Regions from separate parts of the Homo sapiens genome. Here region 1 is linked to region 2. The links are contacts of gene promoters, found by promoter capture Hi-C in human tissues and cell types (Jung and others, 2019). All regions are on one chromosome and are shown on one strand. The core of a region is centred on a gene start or on the middle of the fragment in contact, and the rest is flanking DNA. Distances in the headings are between cores, read along the strand shown.

Region 1 (4,316 bases), core at 1,200-3,699, 40 kb before region 2:
TTCCTGGGGTTAGGATATGGACATGTCTTTTGGGGGAGCCACCCTTCAACTCCCTACAGTTGGCTAGTGACTACTGGACTCCTATCCCCCACCCACAGGGAACGGGCATTGCTGGACGGTGGCAACAATCCAGTGGGGTCTTCTCTTCATGGAAGTCTGAACTTGAAACATATAAGAAATTGACACTGCCACTGGAGTTGTGCAGAGGCCAGAAAGAGGACAGGTGGTAGATACTGTGGGTAAGGAAAAGCCAGGAGGTGAGCAGGAAACCAAGTCAGAAGTCAGAGGCACAGTCAACGAAGCAGTGCCACGAGGATGGTGCCAATGCCTGTGGTTGCCCAGCAACCACATTTCATCAATCTGAAGATGCACCTTTCCCCGCCCCCCGCCCCGCATTTTGGCATTTTGGAATGTGTCTAACAACAGACGATGTCTTATTTGCTGCTTTTGGTCGGGCGGCAGCCCTGAGGTTGCTGGGACTGCCCGCAGGTAGGTGAACTCCTAGAGCGTTGTGATCCCCACGGGCAGAGCAGGCGCTGGTGGCTTTGGGAACACCGCGGGACCCTTTTCACTCCTAAGAATCCGAGGGTCAGATGCGTTTGGCAACATTCTCACAGGAGGAGTCAGAGGAGGCTCTCCTGCATGATGGGTGAGCCGGCATAGGAATTGTGCCAAGGGCCATTAGATTTTGTAGAGACTCTGAACCCCCTGTCCAGAGGACAGGAGCTGAGGACAACAGCAGGCGAAAAACACAAACCTCAAAGTGCGTGCACTGGAAAGAGACCAGAAAGCCAGATTGAAAATGTGGAGGTGTTGCAGGAGTAAATCACCGGTTTCCCTTACATCATCCTCTTTACTTTATTTACTTATTTACAGACAGGGTCTCGAACTCCTGGGTTCAGCGATCTTCCTGCCTCGGTTTCCTGAGTAGCTGAGATTGCAGGTGCCTTTTTACTTACAAAAATTTTTTTAATTGAGAGATAGAAATTGTATATATTTATGGTGTACAGCATGGTGTTTTGAAATATGTATACATTATGGAATGGCTAAAATGAGCTAATTAACATATGCATTATCTCTCATGACTTTTTTTGTAGCGAGAACACCTAAAATCTACTCTTAACAATTTTCAAGGACACAATCCATTGTTGTTGACACTATTTATTCATTTATTATAGAAATGGGGTCTTACTATGTTGCCCAGTCTGATCTTGAACTCCTGGCCTCAAACGATTCTCCTGCCTTGGCTTTCCAAAGCCTCTGTGCCCAGCCATTGTTGACTATAGTCACCATGTTGTACAATGGATCTCTTGAATTTATTTCTCCTGTCTAACAGAACATTTGTACCCTTTGATCAACCTCTCCCCAACCCAGCCACCCACCTCCAGCTCCCGGTAACCACCATTCCACCCTCTGCTTCTATGAGTTCAACTTTTTTAGATTCATATATAAGGGAGATCATGCAGTATTTGTCTTTCTGCGTCTGGCTTACTTCACTTAACATAAAGTCACCCAGGTTCATTCAAGTTGTGGCAAATGACAGGATTTCCTTCTTTTTAAACGCTGAATAGTACTTCATTGTGTATACACCACATTTTCTTCATTTATCCACTGATTGACACCTAGGCTGATTCCATATCTTTTTTTTTTTTTTTTTTTTTTTGGAGACAGCATCTCTCTCTGTCACCCAGGCTGGAGTGCAGTGTCACAATTTTGGCTCACTGCAACCTCCACCTCCCGGGTTCAAGTAATTCTCCTGCCTCAGCCTCCCAAGTAGCTGGGATTACAGGTACCCGCCACCATGCCTGACTAATTTTTGTATTTTTAGTAAAGATGAGGTTTTTGCTATGTTGACCAGGCTGGTCTTGAACTCCTGACCTCAAGCAATCCTCTCACCTCGGCCTCCCAAACGTGAGCCACGGCGCCCGGCCAGCTCCTATATCTTGACTGTGGATAATGTCATGAAGAATGCTGCAATAGACATGGGTGTGCAGGTATCTCTTCAACATACTGATTTCATTTCCTTCAGATATGCATTCAGTAGTGAGCTTTCTAGATCATATGGTAGTACTATTTATAATTTTTTGAGGAACCCCCATGCTATTTCCCATAATATCTTTCTTTTCATATATACACAAGACTGATATAGGAAATAAAGAAACACTGGAGACTAAAAGAGTCAAATGAAATTTTGAAGCAATAAGAAAGAAGTATATTATAGTTAAATTGTGTGCATTTTCTTTCTTTCTTCTTTTTCTTCCTTTCTCATTCTTTCTCTTTCTTTCTTTCTGATGGACTCCCTCCCTTCCTTCCTTCCTTCTTTCCTTCCTTCCTTCCCTCCTTCCTTCCCTCCCTCCCTCCCTCCCTCCTTCCTTCCCTCCTTCCTTCCTCCCTTCCTTCCTTCCTTCTTTCCTTCCTTCCTTCCCTCCTTCCTTCCCTCCTTCCTTCCCTCCCTCCCTCCCTCCCTCCCTCCTTCCTTCCTTCCTTCCTTCCTTCCTTCCTTTGTCTCCCTCTGTCACCCAGGCTGGAGTGCAATGGCACAGTCCTGACTCACTGCAACTTCTGCCTCCCGGGTTCAAGCAATTCTCCTGTCTCAGCTTCCTGAGTAGCTGGGATTACAGGCGCGTGCCACCATGCCCGCCTAATTTTTGTATTTTTAGTAGAGATGGGGTTTCACCATGTTAGCCAGGCTGGTCTCAAACTTCTGACCACAGGTGACCCACCCCCCTCAGCCTCCCAAAGTGCTGGGATTACAGGCGTGAGCCACCGCGCCCGGCCTGTTTTTCTTTCTTCATAGTTTATGAAATAATGATACACAGCTTCTAAGAGATGGTATCTGAGACTTGATTAAAGACCGGTTCCAGTTCTTCATGAGGCTCCACAGTTTCCAGAGCATTCTTGCTTGCCCACGATTGCTTCTATAACTTCCATCACCTTGGTCACCTGAGTGTGCACTTGGCTTCTTGCATCCCTGAGGGCCCCAAGTAACCCACAAAATCAGACAAATGTTGGACAAGAAACAGTAATTAAACCCAAAGCTTTGCAGGCCGTGAGTGAACACCATTCCCCCAAACCCTGGATTAGAGAGAGACAAGGGGGCAATTTACCTCAAGGGCCAAGATCCCTTCCTTACCGTTTTTATTTATTTATTTATATTTATTTATTCATTTATTTATTTTTGAGACGGCGTCTCGCTCTGTCGCCCAGGCTGGAGTGCAGTGGCGTGATCTTGGCTCACTGCAACCTCTGCCTCCTGGGTTCAAGCGATTCTCCTGCCTCAGCCTCCCAAGTAGCTGGGACTACAGGCATGTGCCACTATACCCAGCTAAGTTTTTGATTTTTAGTACAGATGGGGTTTCACCATGTTGGCCAGGCTGGTCTCGAACTCCTGACCTCAGGCGATCCGCCCACCTTGGCTTCCCAAAGTGCTGGCATTACAGGCGTGAGCCACTGGGCCCGGCCTTAATTTTTGTATTTTTAGTAGAGACAGGGTTTCAACGTGTTGGCCAGGCTGGTCTCGAACTCTTTTTTTTTTATTTTCATTTTTTTTGAGATAGAGTCTTGCTCTGTCACTCAGGCTAGAGTGGAGGGGCGTAATCTCGACTCACTGCAACCTCCACCTCCCGGGTTCAAGCAATTCTTGTGCCTCAGGCCCGCAAGTAGCTAGGATTACAGGCACACGCCACTGTGCCCAGCTAATTTTTTGTATTTTTAGTAGCAACGGGGTTTCACTATGTTGGCCAAGTTGGTCTCAAACTCCTAAACTCAGATTGGTCTCGAACCCCTGGCCTCAAGTGATCCGCCCACCTCGGTCTCCCAGAGTGCTGGGATTACAGATGTGAGCCACTGTGGCTGGACCCCTCACTGTTTTAAAGACTTGAATTATTGAGGTATTTGCTTTAAAGGTAACAATCTTTACAGTGTTGAGATACAGACTAAGGCCGGGTGCAGTGGCTCATACCTGTAATCCCAGCACTTTGGGAGGTCAAAGTGGGAGGATTGCTTGAGCCCAGGAGTTCAAGACCAGCCTGGGTGGGCAACATGAGACTTCAACACTATAAATAATTAAAAATTAGCTGGGCATGGTGGTACATGCCTGTGGTCCCAGCTTCTCAGGAGGCTGAGGTGGGAGGATCACTTGAGCTCAGGCCATCGAGGCTGCAGTGAGCTGTGATCACGCCACCACACTGCAGCTGGGGTGACAGAACGAGACCTTGTCTCAAAAAAAAAAAAGAGAGAGATTACAGACTGGTCTTTAGCTCAGTGTTTCTCGACCTTTCTTTCTCATTATTGCCCCTCCCCACTTTGCCTTTTTA
Region 2 (4,773 bases), core at 972-3,471:
TAGTTGTTTCATGATGTAGCTCAGTGTCTGTGTCTCTTTCTTACTTTGCAGTGTGGAGTAGTTTTCTACCAGGACAGAGTTAACAACCCATAAAGGTCTCTGCTTAAGTAAGAAGTCCATTTCTGTGAACCATAACCCAGATATAGCAACGCCAGACTGTCTCCTATCAAAATTTATTGAAATGGTAGATTTTTGGTAAGTACAGAAACACAAGCGAAGGAACCAGGAGGAACGTGCACCCCTCTAACTGTGGGGCAGAGGCACATTTCCCTTTTAATGTTAAAAGCAAACAGAGGTGGGAAACAGCTTTCTATCCTGAAGCCGTTTTAACTGCCCAACCCTTAGATTACTATAAACAAGAGAGGAATGGATTGCATTAGTCGCTGGTTGAAAGCAGCAATGCCATTTCCTTTCCCATAATAACACTGTTTAGCTCAGTCCCTTCTGGGGCTAATCCCCTATTACACCCACCGGAAACACAGATATTAACCAAAGCGTGTGAGTCTCTTCCCTGAGTCCATTTCTGCTAAAGCTTGTCTGAAAGATGAATTGGTCCACGGAAGCCAGGTGACCTACTGGCTTGTTTAATGATGCCTGGGCTCCCTCCAGGAGCAACACAATTCCCTCCAATCTCAGCTCTCCTTATCCCTGCTAGAGCTCACAAGCAGGCTAGATATCACCCCAGGAGCTGAGCCCCCTCCAGTCTGAGGCAGATGTGGGAAGAAGGCCAACAAGTCACAAGTAGATCTCTGGCTCCAACTCTGCTCAGCAGAAATGCCTACAATTTGCCCATCTTCAGTCCTGCGAGCGTCAGAGATGAAGCAAAAGTTTCAGATGCCTAGAAGCTTTACTCTCTATTCCTCCAGGATTCCTGCGGTCACACCTTGCAACCAGTCTCCCACTCATCTGCCACCGTTTCCCTAAATCGCATTCTCTGAATCTGGAAGTTCCAGGAAACCTTAGGCCGAGTCCAGTGACATTACTCGATGCAACAGCCCAACTGTTTCTCCAGAGATCCTGGTTCTTGGTGACAATGTCCCTTCTTGGCATGGTTATTTAAGGAGAGGTTGGGCCCAGATAAGAGGGGCTCCATGGCTCACCGGAGTTGGCCATTAACGCCTCTGGAGCGCCTCTGGTTTTGTTGGGGTCCCCTGTGAGCTCGACGCTCGTGCTGCGGTTATTATCTGGCTCACCTGTCATCTTCCTCTGGAGGCAGCGGTTGATCAAAGTGGAGAAGAAGTTGGGAAAGGATGGGCTGGAGAAGTAGTACACCACGGGGTCCAGCATGCTGTTCATGTAGGTGAAGCTGAGAGTGATAAAGAACGCCAGGTCCACCGAGCGGTACACTTCACAATTCTGCGTGCCCGAAGTGTGCAGGAGCCAGAAGATGCGGATCCGCACAACCACGCTGGGAAGGAAGCAGATGACAAAGACGATGGCCACCACCATGATGAAGGTGATGGCTCTCTTGATCTTGGCATGCCGGTCCATTTGTCTCTGCCGCAGGCTCCAGATAATTCTGGCTGAGCAGAACAGGATGATGCCCAGGGGCAGGAAGAACTCCAGGAGGAACATGGCTTCGTGCCACTGGAAGGTATGGCAGATGCTGAAGCTGCTGCACAAATTTGCACCGCCATTCTGGATCGGCATCTTCTTCTTCAGGAGGTGGACTGTCAGGCCAATAGTGATGCCCCACAGAAGGCAAGAGATGATGGCTGCTGTCCGATTGGAGATCTTGTTCAGGGCGTGGTGGGGATGGACCACCCGGAAATACCTGTCTACCGCCACCACCGTGAGGAAGATGATGCTGCCCTGGCGGTTCATAGCCAACATGAAGAGCATCAGCCGGCAAGGGATGTCCCCAAACTTCCAGTCCCAACGCCTCACATAGTTGTCCATCAGGAAGGGCAGGCAGATGATCAGTAGAAAGTCAGCCACTGCCAGGTTGAACAGGAAAATCCGGCTGGATTTCCAGGACTTGAGGTGGAAACAGAAAATCCACAGGGCAAGGCCATTGCCCAGAAGCCCGAAGATAAACTCCAGCCCCAACACCGGCGGCAACACCTTGACAATGAAGTCATCTCGGAACACACAGCAGTTCTTCTTGTCTATTTCCAGAAAGTGATCCTGCAGATGGTGCCGATTCATGAGTGCGGCTAGTGAGTCCGATGGAGCGCCTCGCCTAGTGAATGCTCCAGCAAGGAGGTGTGTGTCTGTGTGGTGAACGTGTGGTTCCACGCCTGCCTTTATGTCATGTCAGGGTGTTGAAATAGATGACTGAATGGTTACCAGGAAACTACGAAATCTCTAAAAAAAAAAAAAAAAAAAAAAGCCAGCAAGGCTCTTATGCAACCTGCTGTTTGCATAAACAAGTAATAAGAATCCCCTGGGCAGACGGGAACCCACAAAATGTCTTAAATGTAAAGGATAAGTTTAGGCAAGCCGACTGTCATTCGAAAATCAGTGAAACATGAAGGACATCCCTTTGGAAGGCTGGGTGCTTGTATGCCAACTGAGTACTCAACGTTGCAGAATTAATTCACCGTCATCTGCTTGGCTGACATAATTAACAAAACAACAACAATAGCAATAACAATTTTTGGTGCCAAACAGTGAGGTTTTCCAGAAACACTAAGAATTAGCATGAAAAATTAACAGGCATATGACATAAACAGTAGCAGACATATGATTTCTTTTGGAAATGCTGAGAAGACAGTAGTTGCCTGTTTGATGAGGACAGACTGGTTGAATTTGACCACTTTTCCTATGCTACCTTTCTGTACAAACATGGAGTGCTTTTCCATATCAGAACTCTGCCATTCATCTCCAGTTAGGAAAAAAAAAATAGCCTGCTGGAGAGTGTAATATTTCATAAGACATTTGAAAACTTGAGCCCAGTTTCAGTGGCATGTTAACATAAGTTGGGTTTTTTGTTTGTTTATATTAGATTTTGATATGCTTCTGTGCTCAAGTGATTTATTTTTAAGTATGTGATTTCTTTTTTTTGCAAACTTTGAATTAATGAGAAAAAGGATTCATGAGGCTAGTCGTAAGCTGTAGCAAATCGGGTGTACTTTGTGCTACAAATTTGTTTTTCTGTGTCGCTCTGCATGAAGAGGGGTACCTTAGGATAGAGCATGGGGTTAGTACCCCATAAGCTGTCTGTTCTAGACAGCCCAGGAAACTGGTCAGTAAGAAAGTTGGTTGCAGGTCCCTGAAACAAACAAAAAACTGGATGAGGTCTCTAACTTGTTTTATGTCCTTGGGACCTTAGGATGTGATTTTTTTTTTTTGAGACAGAGTCTCACTCTGTCACCCAGGCTGGAGAACGGTGGAACAATCTCAGCTCACTGCAACCTCCGCCTCCCAGGTTCAAGCAATTCTTCTGCCTCAGCCTCCTGAGTATCTGGGACTACAGGCGTGCGCCACCACGCCCAGCTAATTTTTTGTATTTTTAGTAAAGACGAGGTTTCACTGTGTTGGCCAGGCTGGTCTCAAACTCCTGACCTTGTGATCCGTCTGCCTCGGCCTCCCAAAGTGCTGGGATTACAGGCGTGAGCCACCGCGCCTGGCCGTGATTTTTTTTAATGAACTTTATTTTTTGGGGCAGTGTTAGATTCACAGCAAAATGGAGCAGAAAGTACGGACGGTCCTGTGCACTCTGTCTCCACACACGCAAAACCTCCCCCACTAAGTATGTGATATTTTCAAAGCCCCCATTTTTGTAAAATTAAACTTAGAGTGACAGGACCTAAGAGGACATGGAACCCCGCCTTGTAGCGGGACACCATTGCACACATTGTTTCTCTGCTTGTCAGTGCGATTGGGTGTCATCCTATAGAATGTTTTCTCCCTTTAATATTTTGGTCTTATGAATTCTTCCATGCAGGAGGTTTCTAAATTGTGTTCCTTCTACTTTGAGTTATAAAATGTAAATTTCTTCCTTTTTTTTTTTTTTTCTGTTTTTTCTTTTGAGATGGAGTTTCGCTCTGTCGCCCAGGCTGGAGTGCAGTGGCATGATCTTGGCTCACTGCAACCTCTGCCTCCCGGGTTCATGCCATTCTCCTGCCTCAGCCTCCCAAGTAGCTGAGACTACAGGTGCAAGCCACCATGCCTGGCTAATTTTTGTATTTTTAGTAGAGATGGATTTCACCATTTTGGCCAGGCTGGTCTTGAACTCCTGACTTCAAGTGATCCTCCCGCCTTGGCATCCCAAAATGCTGGGATTGCAGGTGTGAACCATCGCTGCCACCATAAGATGTCAATTTATTTCTTTAGCTGCAAACGCAGGTTCAATAATAGGAGCTTATAGACTCTTCACAGTAAACTAGAGTCAGGATGACCTAATATTAGATTCCCATAGAACTACAAGTACTTGATGATGATCCAGGTGAGATGAAGACGATGATGAAGAAGATGATGGTGGCACCTACATTATAGAGAGCTTCCCATGTGCTGGAACCCATACTCAGTGCTTTTTTTTTTTTGAGACAAAGTCTCGCTCTTGCCTCACTGCAAGCTCCGCCTCCCGGGTTCACGCCATGCTGCCTCAGCCTCCCGAGTAGCTGGGACTACAGGCACCCACCACCATGCCCAGCTAATTTTTTATATTTTTAGTAGAGACGGGATTTCACCGTGTTAGCCAGGAGCTCAGTGCTTTTATAGTTGCTTGTTTCACCCTGACTGTAGCCCATGTGGAAGGTATTATTACTGATTCTGATTTCAAAATGAGGAAAGTGAAGCTCAGAGAGGATAAAATATTCAGGGCCACCC

Evidence for each region. The method cuts DNA at HindIII sites, captures the fragments that hold promoters and counts their contacts. A contact is called where the count stands out against the background at its distance.
Region 1: a contact is called between a fragment that was not itself captured here and the fragment with the promoter of HCAR2 in region 2, in 10 of the 25 tissues and cell types used here (H1 embryonic stem cells, IMR-90 fibroblasts, adrenal gland and 7 more).

The regions. Positions count from the first base shown.
Region 1 is chr12:122,660,890-122,665,205 of GRCh38, forward strand. No RefSeq gene overlaps it. Among named protein-coding and RNA genes, the nearest start is that of MIR9902-1, 33 kb to the right of the region's middle. The HindIII fragment of the contact is 5,920 bases long and covers 1-4,316 here.
Region 2 is chr12:122,701,136-122,705,908 of GRCh38, forward strand. HCAR2 (hydroxycarboxylic acid receptor 2) reads right to left here and starts at 2,222. Exons shown (of 1, transcript NM_177551.4): 1 at 158-2,222. The coding sequence starts at 2,148. The coding sequence ends at 1,057. The HindIII fragment of the contact is 9,565 bases long and covers 689-4,773 here.